Regions from separate parts of the Homo sapiens genome. Here region 2 is linked to region 1. The links are contacts of gene promoters, found by promoter capture Hi-C in blood cells and fetal thymus (Javierre and others, 2016). All regions are on one chromosome and are shown on one strand. Each heading gives the region's core, a stretch centred on a gene start or on the middle of the fragment in contact. The rest is flanking DNA. Distances are from core to core; before and after follow the strand shown.

Region 1 (3,560 bases), core at 685-3,184:
GGGAGGCAGAGCTTGCGGTGAGCCGAGATCGCACCACTGCACTCCAGCCTGGGCGACAGAGTGAGACTCCATCTCAAAAAAAAAAAAAAAAAAAAAAATTAACGCCAAGACTCCATGATGAACAAAATGATATAATTATAAATAAATAAGCAAATGATGAACATGACAATGACATAGAATAACCCATGAGAACAAGCAAATATACACACACACACACACACACATATATATACATATATATATACATGTGTATATATATATATATTTTTTGAGACAGAGTCTCCCTCCGGCACCCAGGCTGGAGTGTAGTGGCTTGAACTCTGGTCACAGCAACCTCCGCCTCCCGGGTTCAAACAATTCTCGTGTCTCAGCCTCCCGAGTAGCTGGGACTACAGGCATGCACCACCATGCCCAGTTAATTTTTGTATTTTTTGTTAGAGACGGGGTTTCACCATGTTGGCCAAGCTGGTCTTGAACTCCTGTCTGCAGGTGATCCACCCACCTGGGTCTCTCAAAGTGCTAGAATTACAGGCGTGAGCCACCACACCCAGCCCCAAAACAATATTTTTAATAAAGACAGGCTCAGCCTACTGAGTAGAGAAGAAAAGACAAGCCCATAAGTGTTCCTAGCTGAACTCCCCCATTAGAAGTGGTCTGTGCCTCATCCTATGACATCTATGATTCCACAGCTTGCTGATTACAGCTGAAGACTGTTTAGATTAGGGGGTGAGGCGCGCCTTTCAGATTAGGAATATGGATATGGGATTTCAGGAGTACCACCACCACCTGACCTTGCAGCCTGTAAATTAGGGCGATGTTGAATTAGGTAACAGCATTTCGAGGGATTTCAGACATGAATGGAGAGGAGGGGCCAGGAGACAAATTTACATAGTTCAGAACTTCGTGCATTACCAGAGCAGTTCCCTCTTCCTGCTGGTCCAGGCAGCACGGTGCTTTGAATAAAGGTCAGCTAGAGGGGTCACCCGCCGATTATTCTCTTCTACTGGCAAGGAGGAGGAAGCCCCTGCCCCCTTATCCACCACAAAATCCTGGGCTTCCCCGACAGCTGCAAATTCCTCCCTGGAGATGTAAGGCTTCTGGGGTTGCCATGGTCCATGGGAGTGAAATGCTGGCCGCCCTCTGCTACCCCAGCCCCGAGCAGGCTGTTGCAGCCTTCCCTCCTGTCCCTTTCAAAAGCTTTTAAAGGAAATCCCAGGGGGGAAGGAGGATGGGACACTAACCAGGGCTTCCGTCCAAGCAGCCAGGGCGAATAAAAGGGGCTTTTCTCAAACGAACGGAGCAAACCCTGGGATCGTTTCAAAGGATTTTTAACCCGCGGTCGTTCCCGGAGGGAAGTGGGGAGCAGATACAGTTCTTCCCAAGCTTAACCTGCTCTACAGTTCCTTTCAGCATTTTCTCCAGGGACGCCTCATCCAGGGTCTTTCCCTGGAGGGAGGCGAGGGCAGAGATGATCCTTCCCAATCCCCAACTTAACCTGCTTCGGAAGCGCCTTGCAGCCTGTTTCAAAGGATTTCTCACCCTTGTCTGGCGGGAAGGGGAGGGCAAACAAATGAATCAGCCCCAAAGAGCGGGCTGAGGTCGAGGCTGAATGGGGCTCTTGGGTGTGACTTGCAAATTCTGGGAACACTTTGCAGAAATGACGAGAAGCCCCTCGGAGCAGGCCTGTGGGTTTTCCCTCGCACCTTGCTCCCCAAGCCGGGGCTCGGGAGGGTTCGAGGGCGGAGCGGCGGGCGCGCCGGGGCCAGGGTCCTCCCGGGGCCGCGGTGGGCGCAGACAAAGAGGCGGCGGGGCGGCGCGGGGCCGGGCGCGGGCCGCAGGGCCGGTGCGGACTCGAGGGGCCGGGCCGGCCGGGCCGGCCGGGCGGGCGCGGCGGCGGAGCGCTGGGAGGAGCCGCGCGGCGTCTTCTCCTGGCAGCGCGCGCCCGCCCGGCCCCGCGGCGGCGGCGGCGCGTCACGCTCTCCCCCGCCCCGAGCCGACGAGCCGGGAGGCGGGAGGCGGCGGCCGCGGCGGCTGCTGCTGCTGCAGTGGGACAGGTGGCGGCGACCGGCGGCGTCCGAGGAGGTGAGCAGGGGGCGGCGCGGGCCCTCTCCCTTTCCCGGCACCCCCTGCTCCCCTGCCGGCTTCCCGGCCTGCGGGGCCCGCCCAGGGTCGGGTCGGGGGTCGAAGCCCGGCGTCCGGGAGCGGGGCCGAGCCTCGCGCGCCGGAGCCGTCCGGGAGGGGACCGCGGGAGTCTCGGGTGGCCGGCGCCGGAGGCCGGGGGTCCCTGGGGGGCTCCTCCGGAGCTGGAAAAGTGGCGGCCCTGTCAGCGCCGAGCCGGGCCTTCGCTTCCTCCGCCCGCCTCAAGATGGAGCTTGGACTCCTTGCCCCTGCGCCGCCCCAGGCGCCGCTCTCTCCCTGGCGCCCCGCTCCCTCTCCTGGGCCCCGGGGCGGATGTGGGATCGGCCGGACCCCGGGAGGCCGAAGCCGGGCGGGACCTGTTGCCCCGGGCGCCGCGCCTGTCACCTGAGCATTCCTCAGGCCCCGGGTGCCCGGCGCCCGCGATCCGGCATGGAGGGCACCCTGGCCCGGCCTCCCCCGCTGCCCCGGCTTTTGTTTTCCTCTCAAGTGGGGCTGTGATTCTCGGAGACCGGGGAAGGCTGGAGGTGGCCAGATCGCTCTCGGGTTTCCGAAATCACACCGCTGCCCGGTAATCCGAACCTTCTACCGCGGCAGGGGATTGGCGCGGAAGGCAGATGACACTTGTTCAGAGGTTATTTTACAAGCAGAACCTAGCGATTGCCCGAATTGGAAGGTCCTGCCTTTCAAAAATCGGGTTTTGATTCGGGGGTGAATCCTGAATCCGGCTGTTTCTCCACTTCATGTGGCTTTTCCATCTGGCAGGAGCCGAGCGCCACCCCCTCCTCCCTGCACAGCCCCACCTCTTTGGTATGAAGAAATTACACGTTGTCCGTCATCGGTTTAGATACCTGTTTTTAGCAAAACTTGGGCGCCAGTGAACTGTTTTTTAAAACAAAGGGTGGAGAAGATTCTGTAATTGTGTGTGTGTGATTCAGCAGCCTGGCCTTCTTCCTCTTTTAGGACAGTGGCCCCTAGCAGCTCTATAAGTATTAAGTGCTGTGGCCACTGCTGTCATTAGGGTTATGATTCTGGCTGTTCTTATTATTTGATTTGTGTCACTACTGTTAGCGATGGTATCCACGAATCAGGAGAGTATCCCAGAGTCAGGAATGTGTTTGTTTGACTTTTAGATTTAATGATAACCTTTAGCAAGAATCCCCAGGCATGTCGCTTCTCAGACTTGGGGCCTTTTTTTCTCTGTAAATTATAACAATGAACATTTATTGAAGGCATCTTGTGGCCAGGCTCTGGGCTAGCTTTTTATGTGTTTTATTTCATTTAATCAACCCTAACCCAGTGAGCGTGCTGTCGTCATGTGCATTCGGCAGGAGGGTCATAGAAAGGTCAAGTAACTTGACCAGGGTTATACAGCTAAGCACCTGAAGTCAGAATACCTTTTACCAGCATGTGAACTCAGGTAT
Region 2 (3,560 bases), core at 269-2,768, 330 kb before region 1:
TGTATCAGTTTTTCTCACATCCTTAGTTTTGTTTTTTATTTTTGAGATGGGGTCTCGCACTGTTGCCCGGGTGGGAGTGCAATGGCGTGATCTCGGCTCACTGCAACCTCTGCCTCCCGGGTTCAAGTGATTCTCCTGCCTCAGCCTCCCAAGTAGCTGGGATTACAGGTGCCTGCCACCAGGCCTGGCTAAGTTTTTGTATTTTTAGTAGAGACGGGGTTTCACTATGTTGGCCAGGCTGGTCTTGAACTCCTGACCTCATGATCTGCCTGCCTCAGCCTCCCAAAGTGCTGGGATTACAAGTGTGAGCCACTGCGCCCGGCCCCTTAGTTTTAATTCATAATTACAGAAAAATAAAACAAGATTTCTAGAGACTGACATTTTCACTAAGCTTCCAAACTTCTCACCAACTAAGCAATTCTCTATGTGGTGAAATCTACCCAGTTCACCTCGTTCCAGGTACACCCCAAGAATCTTTCTGGCTTTTCTCTCTTTCTCCCTTAGAAAAGCTCATATACTGTCTCTCTCTGCTGCCAAATGCAGCATACTTGGATTCTTCCATTTGGAGAAACTCAAATTCACTGTATTGCAAGTCAGCCTATTATCTATCTCCAAATCTAATCTTTCTCAAAGTCATCATTTTTAGTGGTGTTCTGGTTTTTCAACTCTCTCAATTGTGAAATATCTTTTTCCTTTTTCACCATTAAACATTGTATCTTTTCTTTGATTAACCCTCTTTATTCACTTTTATACTGCTTACACTCTCAGCAAGGCACTTATTTACCTCAAACCTAGATTTCTGAAAGTGGCCTTCAAATTTGTGGGTTCTATTTCCTCCAAATAATGCAGCATATTAATCTCTTGTCACTTTATTTTCCTGCTCAAAAAATGATTAGGTTGGTGCAAAAGTAACTGCAGTTTTTGCCATTACTTTTAATGGCAAAAAGATATCATTTCTCCTTCTACGGTACTTAAATGTCAGATGTGGTCTCTACTGCAGTCACAGAATGTAAGGTCCACGTGAACAAGGATCTTCTGACTTATTCACTACTCAGGCCCCAGCACCTAAAACATCACTAGGCACACAGTAAGTTCTGAGAAATATTTACTGAAAAAATATTTACTTGCCCTTTTACTGTCCTGTATCTTCAGATTTTTCTGAAAGTTTCCAAGATGCGAATACATACAGCATTTACAATTCACAAATATTTCTATATTGAAAATGAAGAAAAACACTCGAAAGTGAAAAAGATCTTGATTAAACCTAATACATATATCATGATTCAAACCAAGAAGACTTTCCTCACTGTCCTACCACCCAACACTCCAACCTCACCTTCTCCCACTCCTTAACGGGCCACCCTCCCTATACGATACACCAGACAAACTCAAAGCTGCTCACTTCTTCACAGACAGCCATCAAGCTTTTTCTTACATAGTCGTGCGCTTTGTCTGGGACGCCGTTCCCCACCTTCTCATCCAGTCCTTGCCATCCTTAACTCATAATCTTCCAAGAAGCCCTCCTTTGACAGCTAGACTAGCATACACCTTGAGGACCTTCAGGCTGAAATAACCTAGTTGCACATCCTGTTACAAATGGACTGTAAGCTTCTTCAGGCAGAGTAGCCAGACACAAATCACCCAGGTGGGGAAACTCTGTTAATTCATGCCTCCTCCTCCCCAGGACTCCTCTCCCCCAGTACAAACTCACCAAATGAAAAGGATGGGGAAGAAAGCTTACCAAATGTCAAACTGTTATTACAATGCATAAAAGTATAGTGAGTAAAAGTCATTCTGTGGCTACCAACACTTGCCTCCACAATAAAGGACTCGAAGTGGGTAATCGGCATCTAACTTGGCACTGTTCCTTGGGTCTCCTTTGCAGTCAGCCCCGCTGGATTCAGAAATGTCAGCAGCCATTTCACAAACCTGTAAGCAAGGAAAATAACACACCCTCACTATTTTAGAATCAAGACCCCAGAAGAGCAGTGTTCCTCTCAACAGAAACCTCCCCACCCCAAAGCTGTTTCAAGTCTGTTGTTGAGTGGGGGATACAAGCTGCATTCGATTCATAAAATATGAGCAATCCCAGGCACAACATCTCCTTGCTCCACAGGTCTACAGGGAAGCAAGCAGCAAATGGACCATGAAGGATGGGGCAGAGGGACTCACTAGAGAAAAACAGGAAGCAATGGGGAAGGAAAGATGGGGTGAGTACCCACGGCAGACACGGAGCAAAAAGGTCTGAGGGTGATCTGGGAGGGATGCAAACTGCAGTGAGAGAAGGGCTACAAAGGCGCCGAATGGAGAGAGGCTGGAAGTGCCTAGGAACAAGGGGTGGGTCATCGGAGAAGCCCGGGGTGCAGGGTGTGGGGGCAACTAAACGCCATGAGAGGGGCCTGGGGAGTCTAAAAAGGGCATGGGAGGGGGCGGGGTAACCAGAGCGTAAGAAGGATGAGGAGAGAAAACGAGCGCAGAATGTAAGAGCACTGAGGGGACAAGGGCGACCAGGTCTGAGGCGAAGGAGCAACCCCGGGGACGCCAGAAGGGGCCCTTGTGGGCGGGGGTGTGGAGAGGCCCGGCCCGGCCCCCTTCCGCCAGGCAGCATCTCAGCTTCCCCCACACTCTCTACGAGCTTCTCGGGAGCGGGAGAAGCACTTGGGGTCGTTACCCAGGCGGTCGCACAGGCCCCGCCGGCTCCGCTCCCGCCGCTATCGCCAGCTGAACCAACACATGCAACTCGTCTCCCCGGCCAGGGCCGCCCGAGCGCCCGACCGCCAGCAGCGCTCCCGCGAGACAATGAGCCTTTATCGCGAGATTCCGGCCGCCGCTGGGCGGATGTCGCGAGAAGCCGGAAGACGGGGGCGGAGAAAAATTGCGGAGCGTGCGCCTTGCCCTCCGGTGGGGGGCGTGGCCAAGAGGCCGAGAGGCGGGCCGCCGGCAGGCGGTGCTCGTCACCCGTTGGAGAGGATGAATCCTCGAGATGGGCGTGCCGAAGGGAACGTGACTTGCAGACGCAGAGAGCGCACCTGAGTCACAAATGACTCCCTATTAATGAGTCCGAGGATCATCGCCTCGGTGTCTGCGGTGCATCCTGGAGTCCTGACTAACCTCCAGCTACTGCATAAATCACTCCCGTGCGGGGAGATTGCAGCCGGATAGAGCGTTTGGTCGCATTTTAACACCATGCACTGAATTAAAGGAAGGTGTTCTCCCTCCCTCCCTCCCTCCCTTCCTTCTTTCCTTCCTCTCTTCTTTTCTCTCTCTCTTCGCCGGATGGAGCGTTTGGTTGCGTTTTAACACCATACACTAAATTAAAGGAATTCTTTTTTCTTTCTTTTCTGTTCTTTCTTTTCTTTCTTCTTTCTCTTCTTTCTGTCTCTTTCTTCCCCTTCCCTCCCTCCCTCCCTTCCTTCCTTCTTTCCTTCCTTCCTCCCTCCCTTCCTTCCTTCCTCCCTCCCTTCCTTCATCCTTTTCTTTATGTTTTGACAGGGTCTCACTCTGTCACCTAGGCTGGATGGAGTGCAGTTGCACAAACACGGTTCACTGCAGCCTCGACC

The links. The method cuts DNA at HindIII sites, captures the fragments that hold promoters and counts their contacts. A CHiCAGO score of 5 or more calls a contact.
Region 2: a contact is called between a fragment that was not itself captured here and the fragment with the promoter of CLIP1 in region 1, in 1 of 17 cell types (naive B cells). The highest score is 5.2, in naive B cells.

The regions. Positions count from the first base shown.
Region 1 is chr12:122,421,043-122,424,602 of GRCh38, reverse strand. CLIP1 (CAP-Gly domain containing linker protein 1) reads left to right here and starts at 1,934. Exons shown (of 26, transcript NM_001247997.2): 1 at 1,934-2,082. RefSeq lists an enhancer at 659-758 and silencers at 1,868-2,217, 2,238-2,637. The HindIII fragment of the contact is 15,249 bases long and covers 1,386-3,560 here.
Region 2 is chr12:122,752,062-122,755,621 of GRCh38, reverse strand. DENR (density regulated re-initiation and release factor) reads right to left here and starts at 2,798. Exons shown (of 8, transcript NM_003677.5): 1 at 2,672-2,798; 2 at 1,815-1,929. The coding sequence starts at 1,920. RefSeq lists enhancers at 2,290-2,349, 3,441-3,560 and a silencer at 2,490-2,539. The HindIII fragment of the contact is 184 bases long and covers 1,427-1,610 here.